Linked DNA regions of Homo sapiens: region 1 is linked to region 2. The links are contacts of gene promoters, found by promoter capture Hi-C in blood cells and fetal thymus (Javierre and others, 2016). All regions are on one chromosome and are shown on one strand. Each heading gives the region's core, a stretch centred on a gene start or on the middle of the fragment in contact. The rest is flanking DNA. Distances are from core to core; before and after follow the strand shown.

The links. The method cuts DNA at HindIII sites, captures the fragments that hold promoters and counts their contacts. A CHiCAGO score of 5 or more calls a contact.
Region 1: a contact is called between a fragment that was not itself captured here and the fragment with the promoter of HABP2 in region 2, in 2 of 17 cell types (M1 macrophages and M2 macrophages). The highest score is 5.9, in M1 macrophages.

What each region holds. Positions count from the first base shown.
Region 1 is chr10:112,556,676-112,562,321 of GRCh38, reverse strand. The region is part of intron 5 of VTI1A (vesicle transport through interaction with t-SNAREs 1A); the gene reads right to left. Among named protein-coding and RNA genes, the nearest start is that of MIR4295, 75 kb to the left of the region's middle. The HindIII fragment of the contact is 2,799 bases long and covers 1,800-4,598 here.
Region 2 is chr10:113,549,257-113,554,955 of GRCh38, reverse strand. HABP2 (hyaluronan binding protein 2) reads right to left here and starts at 1,903. Exons shown (of 13, transcript NM_004132.5): 1 at 1,766-1,903. The coding sequence starts at 1,834. The HindIII fragment of the contact is 3,226 bases long and covers 1,257-4,482 here.

The sequences.
Region 1 (5,646 bases), core at 1,950-4,449, 990 kb after region 2:
AGTGTGGCCCTTTAATTCTCGAACAAACATTAAGGCTTAAAGGAAGAATATGAAAAAATATAGACTGTTTCTAAATAATAAAACATCATTGTTTCTGGACGATGATACTTTAAACCTGCAGTGTCGTAAGTTATGTCTGCCTGTTTGCTCCTGATAAACCAGCTGTAACTCAGGAATATATGACAAGTACTGGAAAGGGCATTTGAGAAGCAGAAAAATAGGCATTTGCCATTATTTTATTTTATTTTTTCTGAAGGAAAGTTCATCAAATGACTCAGAACACTCCTTTGGCTTTTATGAAATAAAAAAAAGTTGTATCTCAGGGGCTAAGAACTTCAGGTGGAATTGGTAAATTCTGGTAAAAGAGTTCGATGATAGATTTTTTAATTTTGGGGGAGTGAAATGTTGATGATAAAAGCAACTCAGAAAAGTATTTCTTTATTTATAAAAAACTATTTCTGAGAGGGAAAGAGAATACAACAGCCTTTAGTTTGCAATATTCTTCCATATATTTCTAGAGTCTCCCTAAAGTCTCTTTAAAGACTTTTTTCCAGAATGTTTTTTTCAAGTGCTGACTGTAAGCATGATCTATTTTGTTGTATGAGTTCCTATATTATTCTAGAATTTTTCAGTTATCAGTGATCAGAAAACCATGTTAAAATATCTTTTTCCATTTGAGTTAAACTTCCAAATTTAAATAAAAAGTAACCAGTTTTCAGAAATCATTGTTATGAACTGATGATGCTTACAGCTTCATGTTGATGAATTTAAGTATTTGTTATATCCTTGTAGGCAACCAAAGAGATTTTACTTATCATATAATAAAATGGAAAACTGAGATTTACACAAAGACACTACAAGTAAATGTCCCTAGTCCAACCATTTCTGCCTACTTCTTGTTACAAAATTTCAGCGAAACAAACATTATATTCCAATGATTGATAAAGCAACATGATCACACTGCAACCTAATTTTCACTATTAATTTTGTAGCCTAAAAACAATTACCAAAGTAAACTTATGAAATTGGAATGGGTAAACAGTGGAAAAGAAACAAAGCTCAATAACTAAAGCATGCAGCAAATGAAAAAGGGAACCTAGATTCATTATTGGCTTAAAATCTTTACCACCAAATGCTTATTAATGAGTATACACTAGTTTGCAGGGTAAACTGACTTGAGTAGAGTATACTTTTCTTAATTATAACTTTGCCAAATGAAACACAATATTCTTTTTTTAAAAAAATATTTTTTTTGAGAGAACCACTTGAATGTATTAAGAATTTCAATACAATAAGAGACAAAGATTAATTCTAAAATGTCATAAAACCACACGAAATCTTCTTAAAAGTGGTCTGGGATGGGAAATGGCTATAATTATTATAATGCTAAAGGTTAGTGAGAAACTTTTTGAAATAAGCACTTCTGGCCAGGCGCGGTGGCTCACGCCTGTAATCCCAGCACTCTGGGAGGCCGAGGTGGGTGGATCACTTGAGGTCAAGAGATAGAGACCATCCTGGCCAACATGGTGAAACCTCGTCTCTACTAAAAATACAAAAATTAGCTGGGCGTGATGGTGCGCGCCTGTAGTCCCAGCTACTCGGGAGGCTGAGGCAGGAGAATCACTTGAACCCGGGAGGCAGAAGTTGCAGTGAGCCGAGATCATGCCACTGCACTCCAGACTGGCGACAGAGTGAGACTCCATCGCAAAAAAAAAAAAAAAAAAGCACTTCTATTTGCAGTAAAGGAATATAGCTGCCCATTTCCTTCAATCATTCAACAAAATGCCTCTCAGGAAGCTTACATTCTTGTGGAGAAGGCAAACAAAAAATGAGTAATGGATTACTCCTTACAATTAATGTTATGAGGAAGGGGCTTGGTAAGATTCAGGGGAAGCCTGCTTTAGAAAGAGTGGTCAGGGTAGTCTTCTTTGAAGACATAACATTAAACTAGAAACCTAAACCATGAGAAGGAGCTTAGCCAAGTTCCTTTCACATGCGAATGCATCAACACTTTTAAAAAAAGGTATTTCTGGAAAGTTGCATACTACATTTTTTCTTATTTAAAAAAACCCTAGTAAGTACTCTAAAGACCTATCACTATTAAGATAATCCAGTAATAAAAACTCTCAAAGCAGAGAATCCTGAATAGAAAATCTTTATATGTTAAAGTACACCCATTACTAAACATCGCTCACCCTAATCTTTCTAGAGTCAGAAGGCCTTTCAAGATCATACACTCAATGGACCAGAGTCAGCACTGCAATTACTCCTGTCTGGGTCAGTTAGAACTACAAGTGACAAACTAGCTTTTACTATCTCAGATGCCTTAAAAGCAGGATGCATGTTTTTAGGTAACCATGGGTACATCCCCACACACGTGTGTGGCCACTCTGGCTGGTCAGCACTATAAAGAATAGAATACCTTTTCCATTTCAGTAACTACTACCCATCATAACTTTATTTCCCCCAATTTTTTCTCATAAGACACCCAATACAGGTATTCTCCATGTCTGGGGTACATGAATGCTTTTCTGTTACAAGCAACATCTAGAATGGCTGTGTGGCTCTGTGTGTACAGAATTAACATTTTATTGAAGTAAGCACCAGTCTTTCCTAAGAGGGCTGCCTGATTGGTTAGTGGAAAATGGATGGAGTGAAGGGAAGAATAGCTGATAAAGAGATAATCCACTGTGGAAACGTGGCTGTGCGGGATGGCAGCACTGGGGGGTGCATGTAGGGTGAGGGAAGAAGAGGAAGGCCTCCTTTCTGTTGTTGCATTTGAAGTGGGAAGGAGGCCTGCAGTGAGCAAACTTCAGATGTAAAGAACAAAAGGCCAGGTTTTCCCCCTACACCATCGCTCTACCTTTTTCTCAATACTGACGAGATGATGAGGTCTCAAGCTGAAGCCCTACAGAATTATACTTTGACAGCCTATATTTATTAGTCAGGTTTATTTTCCAGATATACAAAGTAAAGCATTCATTATTATGTATGAAACAATTAAATGGAGCAATGTTGCCAATCTGTACTTGGGCAAAATTTAGAAGTATCTCTGCTCTTTACAACGGAATCAGTGCACATCAGTATAACCAACATGTGTTATATGTTCATCCAAAATCTGAAATCACTTAAAGAAAGAAAAACTTGCAGTCAATCATCATTAATATTGCTTAGGTCAATTTACACATTTTTTTCCTATTCCTTTAAATGAATTATTTGGAGAGGATGGTAGTTCCTAAGCTGATGGTGGATCTGAGGTTGCCAGTTACGGGAGCACTTAAGCGCCCATTGGCACAGCAAGATTCAAAGCCCTGGTAGGCTTCAAAGAAACACTTTTTTTTTCTTCTTCTAGAACTCTTTGCTTTCTAGTAAAGCTGCAACCACAATGTTCTCTCTCTTAATGCCACCATAAAAAATCAAAACACTTTAAAACAAATTGATGTACTCTTTAATACAGTCACCACATCATCACAGGACCCTTGCACCCTGCATGGTGACAACCGTAGGGATGCATACCACACATCTCTTTCTTTGTTGCCTGCTTCAATGCTTAAAGAAAAATCGAGAGAGAGTGTGTGTCTCTCAATTGAGATATGGGCACCTTTGATTGACAGGACCTAATCAGCTTATCTCCACACTAATAAAGTTGGGGCCTGTGGAGCTGGTATATGCCCAGCACCAAGTGAACTTTTACTAGCCAAAGCTGCACAGGCCAGGTCTCAGGCTCTGCTTCTCTAAACTGGTTCAGATCAATTCTTAATGGGCTATTTTCATCTTGATAAACCTCTATAGTCTTCATTCATGATAGCATTAGAGGCTATTTAGCTGGATGAATTGCCTAAAGTAATGGCTACACAGTAAGTCTATGATAAGTATTTATGCACACTGAATCAATAAGCTGTCTTTTCCCAGCTCCCTGTAAAGAAATAAAAAGTAACTTCTAAAATCAGAGGTTTTTCCCTTTTACATGATTATTTATTAAAGGGCATGACTTTTTTTTAAAAAAATTAAAGGACGACAGGATCCTCTGCCCATTAGGAAACAGATTCTTTTAATAATTTCTACTGTAAATACTACTGGATTTTCACTTCCTTGGGATGAAGCCCAGTCCTGACACTGCCATACACTGTGATTTCTCTGTCTCCACCATTCTGGTACTTAGAGACACTGACTTGCTCAGACTAGACATTCACTAAATGTGCCTTGATTTTGGGGGAATGAAGAATGCAAGTCCAGGAAACACACATGAACAGGAGTTGAGGGGTGGGTGGCTACAGACACACGTGCATGCGTATTTTCTTCTTCAATTTTACTTGTAGGAAGCCCTTTCAAACCACGCCTTTTCTACCTCATTCAAGAACAATATCTTTGTTCTTATCTGTTTCTAATTGCTATGTAAAGGTTAAATTCAAGAGTTGAGGTGTAAATAAAGTTATTAAAACACCAGGTGCTTCTTCATCTACATGGTGGAGCCCTGGAGAAGAAGTCCTCCTTTACACATGCCAGGGTGAGAGTAAAATACACAGTGGGCATTTTGATCCCACCTTTCATATGCAGTTATCTAAAGAGAAAGATGGGCTCACTGGAGAAAGCAAGCTTTACAGAAAAATCTCCAGTAGTGGAGAAATGTTTTGAAATGATAACAATTGTCCAAGTGTGAATATATATATATAATTTGTTCCTCCCACCATATATAAATGGTCCTTAAAATTATTCAGTAATGCTGTTTTCAAACTGCAATATACCTTAAGTATTATAATCACCTGCATAAAATGAGGCAATTTTAAACACATTCCAAAATGACATTTCTACAGACTATAGGAAATCTTCAGCAATATTTTTCATTCAGATTGTGGTCTTCATGCTATAATTGCTTTATACAAAATCCACTCCAGCCTTATCACTCAATACTATCTTTACTGCTGAACATCGGAAGATAATTTTGCAATAAAATTTAATTTACAGAGCTTATTTTCCACTAATCTCCTAGCAGAGGAAAAATTAAACATGCCAAGGTACACACTCCAAGTTATGATCCTAATGGCATTTTTAAAAATTTCTGGAATAGCACGCCACTAAACATATCAATTTTATCATATTGAAATGTTGACAAATTTTAATTATCAAAACTTTATATCCTAGAAGAGAAAGTAAAAGAGGCTATTAAGAATATGTATGAAAATAAGATTCTTCAAGCAATAAAGTTCCCCTGTGGAAAGCTTTTCTTCCATAAGAAAAAAAATACTTAATATAAAAATATGGGACTAGTAAAGTTATTTTATTCAAACCATTAATATATCAGTAACGGTCAACAATATTGAGATTTTCAAATAAAAAATTCAAAGCCAGTAACAATAAATAGGGACTAGACATCAAGACTCAGTTTTCTGTATAAAATGACAAAGTCAGGTTTCTTATCTCCAAGGCTTATGCCAGCTGTAAAACTTTTAATTTTAAATATTTAGATGCCATGCAAAATTTGGAAGAGTAAATTAATAGTAGAAGGTTTATTTCTACAGGCCTTTTGGTCTCTATATATCATTTATGTCCTAGAAGGCATTCATCGCTTGAAAAACAAAAAAAATTTTCTTTTACAAAAAGTATTGAGCCCTCTAAAACAATTAATGCCACAAATTAGGATAAGAT
Region 2 (5,699 bases), core at 654-3,153:
CGACCACCTGTCTGGCACACATCTGGGGTAAGAAAGCATTCCAAAGCCCCGAATCCTCTCTTTGGAATTGACTAAGCTCATTGCCTGAAGGCTAACTCTCATATTTTCTCTTTTATCCATTATTGACTTATAATTTCATTGCTAACCCTAAAAATTCAATGGGGTTTGCAAAAAAGGGATTTTTCGGGACCATTATCCTTTTGTGAACTTCAAACATACCGTGTCAACGTTTCTCCTTGCCCGCAAAGTTTAGGATCTAATTCTTTCCGACTGGTATGTTCTCTGGGCCCCGCGTGGGCCTCCGATGATTTCTCCTGCCTTTCTCTAGACCTGTGGTATTTCTGCTGTGTCTCGGCCTCAGACACCAACAAGCCATCAAATGATGTAGGGGCTTGACAACAATTTGTAATTACAACCACCACACACACACAAGTCATGATTTGAAAAGAAAACCCTTTCAGAAGTGAGTCACTTGGCAACTTAATACAGAGCTAAGATAGGTGTCTGAGCACAGTTGACGGAAAAGAAAGGAGAAGCTATTGTTTTAAAAACATGCTAATCAGAAAACTGTAACTTAATCTGCTTCATTCAGGAAACGCTCTATGGAGTGAAATGGGGAACAAAATGCAAAGGTACTTAATAAGACAGAGAGGTTATGACTGTTATTTTAGTTCTTATCCTCTGCCCACTTTCTACCACCCCTCCCGAACAAGGCGGAGCATTCTCTGATTTTTATGGAGAAGTTGTGTTCATTCTTGACATTTTAAGGGAGTAGAGCTCACATTTATTTGCAAGCCACATACATGACCTCGTTTACTTGTGGCCCTCCCCAAATCTATGAGAGGTTAGCACTTGATTTGCAGAAGACAACACTGAGGCTCAGAGAGATTATGTTCCTTGCCCAACATTCCACAGCTAGAATGTGGCAAAGCTGAGATTCGAACCCTGGCTCCAAAGCCCACATTCATGCCTCAGACCACAACCAGCACGGAACTCCAAGGAGACTCTATTTCTGTGCAAGGTCCTCTTTCCATGCCCACAGAGATCCATCTGACACTCTTGGACCATGGCACACAGAAGGAACTAACATCTTGACAAGTCATCTGCTCCGGAAGGTCCTGAGTCCCCCGTTCAAGACTCTCTGATGGGACTTCCCTTCCCTGCGCACTGCAACCTCCCTTGGGCCCCTGCTCACCTTCTCTGCCTCATCTGCTGCTGTCACAGGGAAAAGGAGACAAAGTACTAAACACAAAGCTTCTCCCCAAATCCAAACTATTTATGCAGACCCACTGCCAGGATCTTTTGCAGTCAGCAGGCTTCCCCTCTAAGGCCATAGCACATTGCTTCTTACCCTAGTGTCAGCCACAAATCGCTGGAAAACTGTGTGTGTCAGCACCAATAGATAGGTATATTTTCCTGGGGAGAGAGTTTATAGCTTTCCATGGCTTCTCAAAGGGGTCTATGAGATCCATGACAGATTACAATCCATGCCCTGGGGCACATTTTCTTGCCCCAGTCTCCTTTGCTGGAATGCATTCATGGAGGCTCCGCTCCAAGATGGCTCAAGTCAGACACCTGTTCCCATGGGAGTGGCTGCTCAAAAGAAACCAAGCCACAGGCCTGCATTGGTTCTTGTAGTTAGAACATCTCCAACTTGGCAACTCCAGCCTTTCACTCTAAAGTTTCTCATCACTCCCAGCCTAGCTTGGTCCTCCTAGTAAACTTCGGAGTCTCTCAACTACAAATATTAGAAAAGAACACTTACCCCACAGGCTGTCTTTCCCACCAGAGCCATTAACAGCAGAACATGGAGATCAGACATCCTGGCAAACATCTTTGCAGTTTAAGGACTTGTGTTTTCCTCTCAATAAAATTTCTTTTGTTGTCTATGCCTTTAGGGGGGAAAAATGTCAGTCTCCAAGGATTCAGGAACAAATGAAGAGGATGCAAATTATTAACTAGGCATCAAATACTGTTTAATGTTTAATGTTTTGCAAACTAACTATCTTGATTAAACAAATGGCAACTTTGGGGCTGGGCTGAGTCATGAAGTGGTTTCTCTTCTGGGGAGAAACTCTCCAAAGAAAGTAGCTGACATAGCCCCCTGGCTCCACGGTGCACATGACAGCTGCTGGGTGTTCCGAGCAGGAAGCCTGACAGCGTGACTAGCATCCCAGCCTCAGGATAAAAGATCAGGTGAAGCCTGTGCCACAGGCCTCTGCCAGTGCTGATTTGTACAGAATGTTAATAGACTTCTGGTTCATCAAATCTCAAACAGAATTAAGGCATGGATGGGCTCCTAATAACATCACACTTTATATTCATGAGACATAAATTAAAGGATGCAAAACTGCTATTGACAAACATTGATTCTGGGCCCTTTGAAGTGTTGCCCACAGTTGCTTGTTGGCTTCAAAAGTTTTGTTTTAAACCTCATTAGGTAAGACTTTTACTTTTTAATTATTTTTTCCCCTTTTGCTGGAGTCTTTCTTTGATCAAGCGGAGGAAAAAAAACATGGTGTTCATATTTCAGGACAATTGTTTCCTATGTTCCTTATTTAGCTATGCTGGTTGCAGGTAGAGTTCTGTCAAGCAGCAATTACCTATTAAGTGTGGGTTCTTGTGGACACAATTGATCTCTTTAATAGGCATGATCTTAATCTCCTGTAAACAACTGACTGCCCACAGAAATCTATGCCTGGGTTCCAGGAATCCTCCTGACTTGAGTCATAAATCCAGGTTTTGAAATGCTGCTGCCAGCGGAGGCATGTGCTCACCTGTGCCCCCCTGCCCAGCCCTGCCCCTACCTGCCATCCCTGTTTGGCACGTGGACTGCATCAGTGGCTGCATCTACTTCTGAAAGCCAAGTTGCTAGCCGGGGAGGGCCCCACAGATCCCAGCCCAAAAGAATGCCCCAGTCACCAGATGAGCCTTGAAGGACTAGCCAAGTCCTGGTCCTGCCATTTTACCTCCTAAATGACTTCCACATTATTTTCTTTTATCCACATATTTTTGTCTCCATCCTATTTTAGGCAGCCATCAACTCCCCCCACCCCGCCTCCTATACCATCAACATCCACCTGATCACCATAATACAAGCCCATGTTAGTAGTCCCTTTTTCTTTTTATTATTATTATTATTATTATTTTGAGACAGAGTCTCACTCTGTCATCCAGGCTGAAGTGCAGTGGCGTGATCTTGGCTCACTGCAACCTCTGCCTCCTGGATTCAAGTGATTCTCCTGCCTCAGCCTCCTGAATAGCTGGGAATACAGGTGTATGCCACCATGGCTGGCTAATTTTTGTATTTTTAGTAGAGACGGCATTTCGCCATCTTGGCCAGGCTGGTCTCAAACTCCTGACCTCAGGTGATCCACCCGCCTCAGGCTCCCAAAGTGCTAGGATTATAGGCATAAGCCACTGCGCCTGGCTGTAGTCCCTTTTCCTAGAAAGTTCTTCTCTAGCCCTACTCTGTCCTTCCCCTAATCCTTATGACAACCATAAATTTGTTAACTGGAACCCTGCTCACTCCTGAGCAAGTTAATTTAGTTAACTCTCCTAGTTAATGCATCTTTCATCTCTTAGCCCAAACATTACTTCCTCAGAAGCCCTGCATGCATTTCTTCTTTACAGCATTTATGAGGTTGTAATGTCACAGCCGTATTGCTATTTCATTAATATTTGTTTCCCATTGTCCCCATTAGACTGAAAACTCAGGAGAGCAGGCACTCTGTTTCAATCACCATTGAATCCTTGGCATAGATGCCCAGCACTGGATAGACGCTCAATAAGTTTATGTTGGATGAAATGAACAAATGAATGACCACTTTATCCATGTGACAGTTGGACATGTTATCACCAGGATGCCTTAGATAGCATAGCCAACTCAATGTGAAAGGAAAAACTGGATGTGGAAAACTAAAAGTATTTGTGAAATTTTAAGCACACTTCAACTTATTCATGAACACTCCATTAATATTCATCAAATACTTACAGAAGCTCTGCTGTGAGCCAGGCATTGGTGATGTGGGGATGAAGGAGGCAGATGTGAACTGGTTGAGGAGGAGATGGGCAGACAGTGAAAAAGTAAACAGTTAATTTTCGTTAGTGGTTTCTATGAAAAAGAGTGAAACAAGGCGATGGAATAGCAATCCTCATGGGCGGGACGATGGGAGGTGGTTACCATGACATGGTGGCCACGGTGACATGGTGGCTAAACAGGACATCGGTGCAGTGCTGAGGATTTTGTTGGTGGTTACTTGATCCCAGAGCAAGGGCCAAGGAGGCAGCACACATGAGGACTTTGCTGGAGTCTTCACAGTGTTTGTACAGACGGTAAAAAACAAAAACGGAAATGTTCAGACAAGTCAAACCATGAAATCACTCATGTGACTCAGGCGTCTCTTTTCCCCTCCACTGCCTCGCATGAATTACTGACCTTCTGACTTTGTGGAGAGATTCCCAGAAAACAAGCCAGAAGCTTTTCTTCCTGTGTCAACAGGAAGTGACCTGGTGAGTTTGCTGTTCATCTTTGTAATGAGATTAATTTCCCTGACATGTAATCTTCTCTTTATTTCAAACAAAAAGGGAACACTTTTGCTCTTTTTGTAATAACTGCAGGCCTTCCACATATTGTCTCTTATTTCCCTAAAGTGTTGTTATCATGACAAAGTGAAATTAAATAAATTTCTACAGTTAGTCCTAAAGGAGAACATTCTCTAAAATATACTTAATCCTTTTAATTTAGAAGGAAAAAGAGGCTGGCTAATCACGTAATACGTCTTTAGCTGGGGAGCTGGAACTAACCTACCTGGGATCTCTGGTTTTTAAATCCAAACACAAAGGCTTTAGTGCTCATCCAGATGGGGGTTTCAGATGTTATCAAGTTAATCTGGTCTCTCTGTTCCCTGGGTGACATTTTCTCACGTGTTGGGTTACGTACCGCTGGAGGGAGTCCCTGCCCTGCATGGGAGGCCTTGGGAGTCTGGTTTCTCTAGTTGGCTGATTCTTTACCAAAAGGAAAGGCTTCTTCACAAGGCCCTTGCCAGACACCCACCCTTTGATGTTCTAGGCAAGGGATCGGTTTTTGTTTTTGTTTTTGTTTTAAGAGACAGGATCTTACTCTGTTGCCCAGGCTGGAGTCCAGTGGTACGATTGTGGCTCACTGAAACCTCAACCTCCCAGGCTCAAGTGATCCTCCTGCCTCAGCCTCCTAAGTAGTTGGGACTACAGACACTTGCCACCATGCCCAGTTAATTTTTAAATTTTTTGTAGAGACGGGGGTCTCACTCTGTTGCCCAGGCAGGTCTTGAACTCCTGAGGTCAAGTGATCCTCCTGCCTTAGCCGCCCAAAGCCCTGGGATCGCAGGTGTGAGCCACCATGACCAACTGAGGGATTGTTTTTATGCAGCAATCACCTGTTGGGCCTGAACAAACGTGTTTCACGTTTGTTTTCCTCAAGTACCTTGAGGCTTCTTCCTGCTAAGCCTTCAGGAAGGGGAGGCAGCCTAGAGAAGCACCTAAAAGCAGCAGCTTGGACTCAGAACAGACCTGGGGTTGAGCCCCAGCTCTGCCACCTCCCCACTGTGTGACCTCAGGCCAGTCATTTATCCTTTCTGGGCCTCCGTTTCCTCATCTATAAAATAGGGATAATGTAGCTCTTTCTTCGTGGCGTTACTGAGAGGTGTATATGGGAGCAT